4 separate regions of the Homo sapiens genome follow, and regions 1, 2 and 4 are each linked to region 3. The links are contacts of gene promoters, found by promoter capture Hi-C in blood cells and fetal thymus (Javierre and others, 2016). All regions are on one chromosome and are shown on one strand. The core of a region is centred on a gene start or on the middle of the fragment in contact, and the rest is flanking DNA. Distances in the headings are between cores, read along the strand shown. Region 1 holds the start of GCGR (glucagon receptor). Region 2 holds the start of ARL16 (ARF like GTPase 16). Region 3 holds the start of FASN (fatty acid synthase). Region 4 holds the start of UTS2R (urotensin 2 receptor).

The links. The method cuts DNA at HindIII sites, captures the fragments that hold promoters and counts their contacts. A CHiCAGO score of 5 or more calls a contact.
Region 1: the fragment with the promoter of GCGR here is called in contact with the fragment with the promoter of FASN in region 3 in 3 of 17 cell types (erythroblasts, monocytes and neutrophils); the score reaches 10.5 in erythroblasts.
Region 2: the fragment with the promoter of ARL16 here is called in contact with the fragment with the promoter of FASN in region 3 in 1 of 17 cell types (M0 macrophages); the score reaches 6.1 in M0 macrophages.
Region 4: a contact is called between the fragment with the promoter of UTS2R here and the fragment with the promoter of FASN in region 3, in 2 of 17 cell types (neutrophils and monocytes). The highest score is 13.1, in neutrophils.

The regions. Positions count from the first base shown.
Region 1 is chr17:81,802,700-81,805,399 of GRCh38, reverse strand. GCGR (glucagon receptor) reads right to left here and starts at 1,250. Exons shown (of 14, transcript NM_000160.5): 1 at 1,151-1,250. It overlaps LOC105376789 (a long non-coding RNA gene), which reads left to right and starts at 655. Exons shown (of 4, transcript XR_001753046.3): 1 at 655-742. RefSeq lists an enhancer at 1,282-1,781. The HindIII fragment of the contact is 37,078 bases long and covers 1-2,700 here.
Region 2 is chr17:81,682,547-81,685,246 of GRCh38, reverse strand. It overlaps ARL16 (ARF like GTPase 16), which reads left to right and starts at 1,450. Exons shown (of 5, transcript NM_001040025.3): 1 at 1,450-1,554; 2 at 1,653-1,711; 3 at 2,121-2,234. The coding sequence starts at 1,494. It overlaps HGS (hepatocyte growth factor-regulated tyrosine kinase substrate), which reads right to left and starts at 1,236. Exons shown (of 22, transcript NM_004712.5): 1 at 1,144-1,236. The coding sequence starts at 1,180. RefSeq lists silencers at 1,006-1,105, 1,316-1,375, 1,586-1,665 and enhancers at 1,254-1,548, 1,766-1,985. The HindIII fragment of the contact is 2,231 bases long and covers 457-2,687 here.
Region 3 is chr17:82,096,891-82,099,590 of GRCh38, reverse strand. FASN (fatty acid synthase) reads left to right here and starts at 1,355. Exons shown (of 43, transcript NM_004104.5): 1 at 1,355-1,470. RefSeq lists silencers at 183-1,662, 1,733-1,922, 1,943-2,152, 2,213-2,262 and an enhancer at 2,131-2,700. The HindIII fragment of the contact is 59,862 bases long and covers 1-2,700 here.
Region 4 is chr17:82,370,359-82,373,058 of GRCh38, reverse strand. UTS2R (urotensin 2 receptor) reads right to left here and starts at 1,294. Exons shown (of 3, transcript NM_018949.3): 1 at 1,012-1,294; 2 at 276-461. The HindIII fragment of the contact is 32,713 bases long and covers 1-2,700 here.

The sequences.
Region 1 (2,700 bases), core at 1-2,500, 290 kb after region 3:
ACCAGGGCTTAGGGCCACCTGAGCTCCACTGCCCCGGCCGCTTTGCAGGGCTGGCACCCCGTGTCCTGTCCCATGTCCTCCCTGGCAGAACACGTGACTCTTGGGCGCTCCTGGCTGCGTCAGGCTCCACCGATTCCCACTGGGGGCGGCTGAGGGACCCGCAGACCTGGAGCTGGGCCCCCAGGATGGGTGGAGCGGCCACTGGTCCAGGAAGGCAGCGGGGCTCCCAGGGCGTCCGCAAGGGGCCTCTCAGACGCTTTGAGGAGCTCCGGGATGGGAGCCGGGATGTTTTTGTGAAACCAGAGAAGGTAGTGGAAGGTCAGGGCACCGGGGCGGGATCAGGGGCCACAGGCTGTTGACAAAGCCCTATCCCTGCGCCCTCACCCCGTGGGGGCGGGGCAGGCGTGGGTGCACCCAGACCCCCCAACCCTGATGTCCCCAATACCAAGGGCAGAGAGCAGCCCTGGCCGGTCCTTGGAGGATGCGGGCGCCGAGGGGGCCGGGGTCAGTCGGTTCAGAGTCGGAGCATAAGCCCGGTGGCCGAGTCGGCCGGGTGGTGGGGCGCCGGGGGGGCCGGAGCCGGGCAGGGCAGTGACCCGCTTGCCGGGGTCAAAGTCGCCAGTGTGGGCCGCGGAAGAGGAGCGGCCAGGCGGGGCGCAGACACCCCTCACCCCATCCTGGGCCGCGCCGGTGCCACCGGGCAGTCCTCGGGGCAGGAGCCCACCGAGGGGAGACAGCGCTGGTGAGACCCCGCGCCTCGGGGACGCGTCCGCGGCGCTTTGTGCGCTCCCCAGGGCGGCGGGGCCCGGGGCCCTGAGTGGGGAGTGTGGCCGCTGCAGTGTGGCCGCCGCAGGGCGCCAGGCGGCCAGCGACACCCCCGCCCCCAGCCGCGCCCCCCAGGACCAGAGAACGGGGGAGGGGCTGAGACCCCTGGACCTGCCCGACGGTGCAGGACCGGGTGGTGTCCGAGCCGGGGTTGGGAACGGGGGTGTCTGACGGGACTGAGGAGCGCACCAGCCCGGACCCCGGAGACCGCCCGGCCGGCTCCCCGCTCCCCGCGCCCCCGGCCCCGCCGCGCCCGCCCCGCGGTCTCTGTCCCCACCGGGTCGACTCCCCAACGTCCCCTCGGGGCCGCGGCCCAGGTGCTCACCGCGCGGCGCTGCTCGGGGGTCGGCTTGGCTCCCCGCCGTCCTCTGGGCGCGCTCGGGTCGGGCGCCGGTGACCGCTCGTCTTCGCGGCGCTGCCAGATCGGGGTCGGTGCAAACTTTCCGGCGGCGACGCAGGGCGAGGGCGGCGGCGGAGGGCGGGCTCGGGGGCGGCCCCGCGGGGGTGGGAGCGGCAGCCGAGGGTCCCCGCCCGCCCTCCGCGCAGCCTCCCGGCGAGCTTCGGTCCTGCCCACCCTGCGCAGGGAGCGCCTCGTACCCCGGCCATACGCAGACTCGGCGCGCTGAATTCCACCCCGCGGACCCGCGCCCCACAGACCTTTGTCCCACGGGTCCTGGTTCCGCAGACCCTAATCCTGCAGACCCCTGAGCCCGCGGACCCTGGCCCAGCAGGTGGTGGTCGCGGTGGGTCCCAGCTCCGGGAGGGGACGCCCTGGGACGCGGAGGGGCGCGCGGGCGTGGGGGCCGTGGCTCAGCCCCCCTTCCTCTCGCTCCCTCCGCCTCCCTGGGCGCCCCCTCGCCCCCTTCCTCTCGCGTCCCCGGGTTCTCGCCCCTTCTTTCCTGATGCCTGCCTGATTTTCTGGAAAGACCGACACCCCCAGTCGCCCCCACCGCGGCTCCCGGTTCCTTCCCCTGCAGAGCAGACGGGGGCTGGAGTAGGGGCCAACATGGGTGACATGGGTGGACCGGCAGGGCGGTCCCTGGGGTGCCCTTTAACTCTTTCTGTGCCACATCCCCGGTCTCTGGCCAGTCCTGTCGCGCTAAGGCCCCTCCAGCAGCGCTGACCCTGGTCCCCCACCTGCTGGTCCTGCGGCCGCGGGGCGCTCTCTCCTCCGTCCCACCCGCTCCTTCCACACCACCTCCTTTCCTGGGAGTGGAGAAGCCCCAGCCAGAACCCCTGCCTTCCCCAAGAGGCACGCTCAGAGGGACATTCTCCCCTTCCTCACTCCCCCTAGAGCCACATCACACCTGGCTTTGGGGCCCTAGAACCTCAGCCCGCGCCCCTCCCCTTCCACCCCCAGCCATCCCTGCTCTGTGCCCAGTGATCTTGGGGTCACCACAACCCCATGGCGCCTTGAGGCCTCACCTTTCCTGGCCTCTCAGCATCCTGGGACACTGATGGTCATGCCTTCCTTCTAGAAAGTTCTCTCCGAGGCTGTGGCTTCCAGGATGAGCACTCTCCTCCTCCCACTTCCTCCCCTTCTCCTTCCCCCTCCTCCCTTCTCCCTGGAGAGGTCTTCCTCCAAGTCCCAGTCTTCTTCCCCACCCAGAGCCCCTCCCGCTGACACTTGTCTGCAGTGCCTGTCTCCGCTCCCGCTAGGAAGCCTCCCCTCCGGCATCTCCAATCCATCTCTGGGTCCTGCTCCACCTGCATTTCCCTAGACCTGTCCTGGCCACCCTCACCCTGGGACACCTCCTGCCCGTGGAGAGCTCCTCTGATAGGTGCCGTCCTTGGTCTTGGGGGTCCTTTCTCCCTAATTCTACTTCTGTTTTGGGGGCGTGGGAACCCAGGGTCTTAACCCCAGCCATTCCCCCT
Region 2 (2,700 bases), core at 201-2,700, 410 kb after region 3:
ACCCTATCACCCGTCCCTTGGAGTCCCCGTTCGCCCAGATGCTCCCGGTTTCAATGGGACCTTAGCTTGGGCAAGGGCTAGAGAGGCCTGCAGTGTAGACTCCAGGCCCCTTGCTCCAAGCCAAGTGCTTTGGAAATAAGGGCAGAACGGGGCTCCAAGGAGGACTCGCCAGCATACCTGTCATCATACCACATCACTGCTGTCTCCAACAACTGGCCCCTCTGGGGGGGCAGCTCCAGCTCTGCCCACATCGCCTTTCCCGGATACAGAAACGATCTAACAAGCCAAGCCACGTCCACTTTCTATACTGATTCAGTAGTTAACCTCTGGATTCATCCCTGAAGCACTGAACTACCTGTGTGGCTGAGATACTCAGTCTGCTTGCTGGTTCCCTTGGCAAGGAAGGTGTCTCACTTGAAGTCTCCTTGAAAACCCTACTTGACAAAAAGGCAAGCTTGGGCAGCCCATTCGACCACCCAAGCTCCTACCCCCAAACATTAGACGCATTTTCCACGTGCTGCTGGGCACGTGCACATCAACATTCGTTTCCCTCCCAAAACGCGTCAATTCCAGGAGGCTCAGATAGGATCAGCTTTCACCTCCAAAAACGTGAGAAAACGCCTTCCTAAACCATTAGGCACTTCCCGAAGCCAGTGTGGGAACAAAAGGTGGGTCTGGGACCCGCAGCCCCCAAGAGAGCTCGAAGGTCCCAGAGAGAACACTGCCGGCTCCACCCTTCGAGGCCCAGTGTTTTGGGTCAGAAGCCCAAGTGCGAGCCTAACATCCGACTGAGTCACCCACTTTCATGACTCAGGCCTTGTGGCCCACTCGGCCGGGTGCTCGTCGGTCAAGAGGAAATCGGCCGAATGCCCGGGCCCGCGGAGGAGCGAGGTCGCCGAGCGCCCCTGGCGCCCTGCGCGGACCCTCGCAGAGCCCCATTTGCCAACGCCCGACGGACGCCGACCCCACGGCCGCGCCGAGGGTCCAGGATCGGCGGCTCCGAACCCGGGAGGACAGCGGGCCGGGGAGAGGCGGGCAGGGCGGCCGGTCCGCGCCCCTCGGGCCCTCGGGGCCGCGCTGACTCAGCGCCGGGCGGAGGCTGCGGGCTGACCAAGGCCGAGCCGTCGGGTGGGGACGCGTTACCTAGGAGACGCTCGAAGGTGCCGCTGCCTCGCCCCATGGCGACCTCCAGCCCAAACCCGACGCCGCGGGCGCTCCCCTGCTACGAGCTGGCGCGCCCCCCGACTTCCGCTTCCGCCTTTTCCCTCCAGTGCGCGCACGCGCACGTCACCGCGCCGGCCCTAGAGCCGCGAGGAGGCGGGGTCTTCCGCTCTCCCGCTAACGCTGCGCGCTAATTGGACGCGCCCTTGGAACAATGAGCCCTAAGAACCAATGAGAAGTCCGAAGGTGAGAACTATCCAATGAGAGTGGCCGGTGGGCGGGCCTTGAGCCGCGGCGCCGAGCTACGGGTGCCGGGTGGAGCGAAGCACGGAATGTGTCTCCTGCTGGGGGCCACGGGCGTCGGGAAGACGCTGCTGGTGAAACGGCTGCAGGATATCCTTCCGCGCGGGGACGGGACCGGGGCGCGGGGGGCACCCGGAGTGGGGCGGGGACTCACCCTTTAGCTGCTCGGGTCCTTGACCGCTTCGCACAGGTGAGCTCCCGGGATGGGAAAGGCGACCTGGGGGAGCCGCCCCCGACACGGCCCACGGTAGGTGTCCGCCCCCGCGGGTGGAGTTGCGGGGGGTCAGTTCTGCGCTTGGCGAAGAGCTCCGGGCTCCTCTAAGTGCACGCCGAGGCGCAGCGGGTCAGGTCGTGACTTAAGGCCAGCCTTCGGGAGCGGGGGACGGCCCGAGCTGAGGATAATTGGCGCGGGATGAGGGGGCCTGCCGCCCTCCACGGGCACTTCCTCTCCCCTCGCAACGGCTTCCTGTGGCTGGTCGCCCCCACAGCGAGTCCAGCTACTGATGGGCGTCGGTCCCTGCTCGCCGTTCCTGCGTTAGGGAGAATGGGTCTGCGGGGTTCAGGCCACCGTGTAAGGTGTGGGCACGGTGCTCTTCAGGAGTTCACAACGGGACAGCGGTTGTATTGTTCTTTTTGCATCGTGGTTTTTCCTATAGGTGGGCACCAATCTTACTGACATCGTGGCACAGAGAAAGATCACCATCCGGGAGCTTGGGGGGTGCATGGGCCCCATCTGGTCCAGTTACTATGGAAACTGCCGTTCTCTCCTGGTGGGTTGTAATCCTATATGGGCTTCCTTTAGGGAAGTGTGTCTACATTTCTGTGACGTCCAGTCCCCAACCTTGCTGTGTGTAGAAAGGGGTTTGGGTTATTTAGTGACTATACTACTCATGGAAATAGGTCTTAGCTAGTGTTGCTTCCTGCTGGGCACCCTGTCTGGTTTCTGGTGCTTGCGCTCCCAGGCCCCCGGTAGGAGCTCACAGAGGGCTTGCTGAGGGCAGGGCTGCTGCTCCGCAGAGAACAGACTTGGCCCTCTGTGTCACTCCCCGGTACGTCTGTGTTTATGTTGGACTTATACGTACCTCTGGTTGGTCTCATCTTGATAAGGCCTGTGCCGCGGATACCAGTATGGAGAACTGATGGCCACATGAGGACAGAGACGAGTGACACCAGGTCGTCTTCATAAAACTCGATTCCCTCTGCTTCTGCTTGTTCCCAAAGCTTTGTTTAAAGCTA
Region 3 (2,700 bases), core at 106-2,605:
AGTGGCCGCCTGACCCTCAGGCCTGCTCTCAGGAGAGGAAGGAAGCGGGACACCTGCAGAGGGGCCGGGGGCCCCAGTCTCCGGTTCCCCTTCAGCGGCCCGGGCTTGCTGAGCCCTCAAAGTAGGACACGCAGCCAGAGACACCTGTGGCCTCACAAGGCCCGCTTGCCCCCCATGGGGTGCCTGGCCCCGCAAGCGCGAAGCGGTCAGAAAAGGGAGGCCGCGCTTCAGGGCTCAGGCCGCCCAAGGGGCCACGATTCGAGGAATCACTCGGGAGGGAGGGAGCGCGCGAGGGCCGGGCTGAGCCCCCGCCCGTGGGTGCGCGCCTGGAAAACTCGCAGCCTCCGCCCTGGGAAGTGGGGCAGCGGCTCCCTTTGTCCGCACCACACCAGGTGGGTGTCCCGGCCGACTCCGCTCGCCACGTGGCCGCGCCCCTCCCCTCCGCCGAGCTCCAGCGGCCTGGAGTGCGCTCGCCCGTTCGGCCCTGCGCCTCGTCCGGGTCCCCGGGAAGCTGCTAAGGAGGGGCCGTCGGGTGGGTGGACGTCCGTCTCGGGTCTGGGTTCCCCGCCGCACCCGCGAGGAAAACCGGGGATGCGCTGCGATGACCGGCAGTAACCCCGGCCGGGGCGCCCGCGGCCGGGGTCAACGCCCGCACTTGCGCCGCGGCCCGCGAGGCATCCGGGACCGCCCCGCCGCCCGCCCATCACCCTATCGCCTAGCAACGCCCACCCGCGCGCCGCCATTGGGCCGGTGCGAACACCCCTGGCGCCCGATTGGTTGCTGCTGCCGCCGCGCCGCGCAACGCCGCGCCCTCAGCCAGCTCCGCGCGGGCAGCGACGGCGGCGTGGAGTCGGCGGCCGAAGTGCGGGCACGCGGGTCCGTCCGTCCTTCCGCGCGCCTGTGGGTCCGAGCGCCCCGCCGCAGCCGGCTGGACCCCCGGTGTGGCCACGGGGTAGTCCCCAGTGTGGCCCAAGCATTCCCATCCCGCACACGTGGCCCCGGCGGACACGGGGGTCGGGGATGGCTCGGGAGGCGCGCCGCGGGCTCGGTCGCAGCCGCGTGCGCGTCGGGGCCCGCGGGGCGGGAGGCGGAAGTCGGGGGGCGGTGGTTTCCCGCCCGCCCCGCCCCCGGCGCTCCTCAGTCCCAGCCCCACCCCCCCAGGCGCGTTCCCGCGCAGGGTCCCGGCTCGGGCGGCGGCGCGCACGAGCATCACCCCACCGGCGGCGGCGCGCCGGGTCCCGGGGCGCAGCCCCGACGCTCATTGGCCTGGGCGGCGCAGCCAAGCTGTCAGCCCATGTGGCGTGGCCGCCCGGGGATGGCCGCGGTTTAAATAGCGTCGGCGCCGGCCTAGAGGGAGCCAGAGAGACGGCAGCGGCCCCGGCCTCCCTCTCCGCCGCGCTTCAGCCTCCCGCTCCGCCGCGCTCCAGCCTCGCTCTCCGCCGCCCGCACCGCCGCCCGCGCCCTCACCAGGTACGAGCAGCCGGCGCTGGGGCCGGGGCGCGGGTCGTGGTCGGGGCTGGGCCCGGGGTTCCCGGGGTGGCCCGGCTCCTCATCCTCCGCTCTCGGGGCGCGCGTGGCCCGGCCCCGTATCCAGGGGTCGCCTGGGCGGCCTGTCCGGGTCTCGGTGTTCGTGCCCCTTCGGAGGCGCCCGGGGCCCCGCGGAGTAGGTGGGCGGATGGCGGGGGAAGGACGCCGGGGAAAGCCACCAACAGCCGCCTTCGCTTCCCGTGGGGGAGGCCGCGGACCCTGAAGGGCCTGGAGGAGCCCCCGGCTCGGCCTCCCCGCGCCCACAAAGGCGCCGCCGCATCCTCCTCCCGGAGCCGCCCCGGAGCCGAGGCCCAGCCCGAAGGGGACGCCGCGAGGGAGGAACGGGGGGGCGCAGGGGCCGCGCCGGGACCGGCCTCCCCATCACGTGGCGCAGCCCGGCCGAAGCGCAGGGGTCCCGAGCAGCCCCCGCCCGGGGCGAAGGGAGGCCGGGCGCGCCGCGGTGTTCCCACCCCCTGCCTGGCCGTCGACCCCGCGTGAATAGCAAGCGGCGAGGACCCAGCGTGCGGGCCTGGAGCTGGCCCGGGGCAGCCAAGCCTCTGTGAATCGCAGCGGGTGGGAAGGCGGCCGCCTCCCTGCCGGGACGGCCCAAGGGAGGCCGCACTGCCGAGGGGCGGCGCGCGTATCAGGCCCTGGGGCCTCGTGCAAGTGGCCAGACCAGCGCTGGCCTCCGCCCCCTCCCCCCAGGGCCGCACCAGCCCTCATGCTGGAGGAGGAGCCGGCGGCCTGGGCACCCGTTCCGGGTCTTAGGGACCTGGGCTCCAGGGAGGGCCTCCTGTGGTGTGTGGGTTGGTATGGGGAGGCAAGCGTCTGTGGGTTCACCCGCGCAGGTGAAGGGTGCCAGGCAACACCTGCGTGTCCTGGCCAGGAGTGGTTCTCCAGGTTGGACCCTGCTGGAGGGGTTGGACTGGCTGGGTCGGTCCACAGTGGGGCAGGGGCCACCTTTCCCCCAGAGCATAGGCTATCCCCATTTCGTCCCTCCCCAGCCCTGGTGGCTCTTGGGCTGGCCTGGACAGCGGGCCCCCACCCCAACACGGGTGAGCATGGGTGCTGAGTACCCCCCTCTAGGGCTCCCAGCCACCTCCATGCCCCGGCTTTGGGACCCTGCCTCTCCATTTCTTTGATGGCCCTTAGCAGGCTGGCCACCTGAGGCCT
Region 4 (2,700 bases), core at 45-2,544, 270 kb before region 3:
CGTGACCGGGGACTTCCTGAAAAGGACACCCACGCAGCCAACAAGCAGGGAAATGCCAGTCAGGGCCACAGGAGCCCCTGCGTGCTGACAAGGATGAACGCGTGAAAAGGCAGATATCCTTGTCAACAGGCGTGGGGGCTGTGGAGGAGCTGGCCCTGCCGTTTCCTGTTGCTGGGAACCTGGACTGTGCCGCCGCTTTGGAAAGCCATTGGCACGATTTGCAGAGTTGACCGCCTATACCTTCTCACCCGGCAATTCTACTCTCAGGTTAGTACCTTAGATAAAGGGCTGCCAACGTTCAGAAAATGACAAGCGTGCGAAAGTTCACGGCAGCTTGACTCCTAAGAAGCTGGAAACAGCTCAAATGTCCCCAGTGGACGGGGCAGGCAAACTGTGACATGAAGCCAGTGAAGGAGTCGCCGCTGGGGTCAGCAGCCTGGATGAAACAGCGCGGTGGTGGGCTGAAGAAACAAGACACAGGAGGCTGCCTGATTCCACGAGCCACGCTGAATTTAGGCCGAACACTCATGGCTGCGCAGGGAGCAGTCTTGGCTGGGGTGGGGAGTTGTCAACAGGTGGGGGCGCTGGGGGCCTTCCAGGGCCTGGAAATGTGCCCTGTCCGCCCTTTCCCACCAGGCCGAGCAGCTCCCAGCTCCATCTGTCCAGGGGACCCTCACCCCCTTGCTGCCCCCACCCAGGGCATTTCCAGAGCCCTCACCCAGGGGACGGCGCAGAAGCCGAGGGTGCACCGGGCTCCCCAGTTGTGCGCGAGCCCGAGTCACGGGCAGGGGGACAGCGGCCGCCGGGCCGCTAGGATTGCTCCAGGGTCGCTAGGGGGGAAGGGGAGGGGCCGAAAGTTCCACGGCACGGGAGAAGCCGCCTCGCTGGACCCCGCTCCCCTCGCCCAGGGTGGGTTCCCACCGCGAAACCCCGGCCCAGCCCTGCGGAGGGCCCCGAAGGGCACAGACCCGGCAGTCCCCGCGCGCTCCCGGTCACCCACCGAGGACCCACCTGCCTCCGGTCACTGAGCGGCCAGACCTGCCCGCCGAGCCTGGGGTCGCGCGTGGGGGCAGCCGCTCGCGGCTCCAAACTCCTCGCGCAGCGGGGCCGCGGGGAACTTTCCGAGGCGCGCTCCCCTGTCCCAGCGCAGAGGGGGCGCGAGGGGCTCCGCGGTGGCCTCGGCTTCCAGAGCACACGGCAGGGGCGCCCGCCAGTCCCGCCACCAAAGCCGCGCCCCCCGCCCCGCGCCGGGTCTCTGCGCCGCCGCCACCTGCCCGCCGCCAGCTGGGAATGCGCCGCGCCCCGCGCCAGGGCCCGGTATTAAAATAACCCCAGCGGGCAGCAGGCGCGCGGAGGGGACGGCGCCGGGTGTCTAGGGGGCGGCGCTGACCGCGCGGCGCCGGGAAGACGCGGGGGTCGCGGGGCCGCAGCGGGGTCGGCGGAGGGTCCCAGGCGGGTCTCGCGTCTGCGTCTGCGGAGCGAAGCTGCCTCCAGCCCGGCTGCCCCAAGGCTGACCCCGCAGCCCCTCTTGGGTTCTCCGCCTCCAGCGTTCACCCCTGCGCCCCTCACGCCCGTGTTTGCAGGGCACGGAGCCTGGGATTCTCCGTGTCCACCAAGCCCTGGACCCGCCCGCGCGCAGGTGGGGGGCAGGAACACCCCTAAACCCCGAGAGGGTCATAGAAAGGAGGTAAGGGAGGGAGGGAGTCACCCGCCCAGGCGGGGACGGGCTCTTTGGGGGCCTTGACCCCGCCCCTGTTGCGGGTCTCCCACAGATGCTCTTAGAAGCCCACGCAGCCTCTCCAGGCCTCGGCAGGGACTCGTGGTGGCCACATCCACGGAAGTGACGCTGGGAGCTGCAGGGCCCCGCGGGGTAGGAGGAAGGACCCCACAGCCTCACCCTCGAGCCCCTGAGCTGGGTGCTGGCCCCCACTCGGTTTCACTTGCTGCTCGGAGGTAGGATGTGGGCCTTCACTCATGCTGAACCCCTGAAAGAAAAAGACACAGAACATTAATAAATTAGACTAGAGGAGAGCTGGAGAGCTGTGAACACGGGGTCTAAAGGGCCCCCAGCGAGGAGCTGGCCTCGCCCACTCCACTCCGCCCGGGGCTCATCTGCTGCCTGAGGCCGCGGACCGGCCCCTAAAGCTGAAGGGGTTCTGCTGGGGGAGAGGAGGTGGCCAAGTGTGAATGGCCGAGAGGCTCCTGCAATCAGCTGGATCCGGGGGAGCCCCAGATGCCCACCAGTCCCCTCCGTGGGACGTTTGCCACGTGCTGGGGAGGCGAGGCTGGGCTGGAGAGGGCGGGAAAAGTCCCTCTGGTCTCCGAGCGTCCGCTGGACGGAGCAAGGGTCACACAATAAGACAGTTCATTCTCTGTGAGCTGAAAACAGCCGAACTGAAACCAAATACAGCTGCAGCTTCCGACCCGAAAGGGGAGCAGCTCATCCTGCCTGTGCGCGGGAGGAAAGGGGGTGGAAGGCTGCCTCCGACGTGATGGTTCTGTGAGAGCTGATTACTAAGCTGGAGTCTAGGGGCTAGGGCTGGGGAAAAGCACTCAGGACCCAGAATGCCTGCTCCAAGAATTAAATTTCCCGCAAGCCAGCTGCCGAAACGATCTGCTGTCACCTCAGCCAGTTCACCGAGTAGCTGCTGAAACGACCTGCCCTGACACGAACACCGGGTTTTTTATTTTTTATTTTAT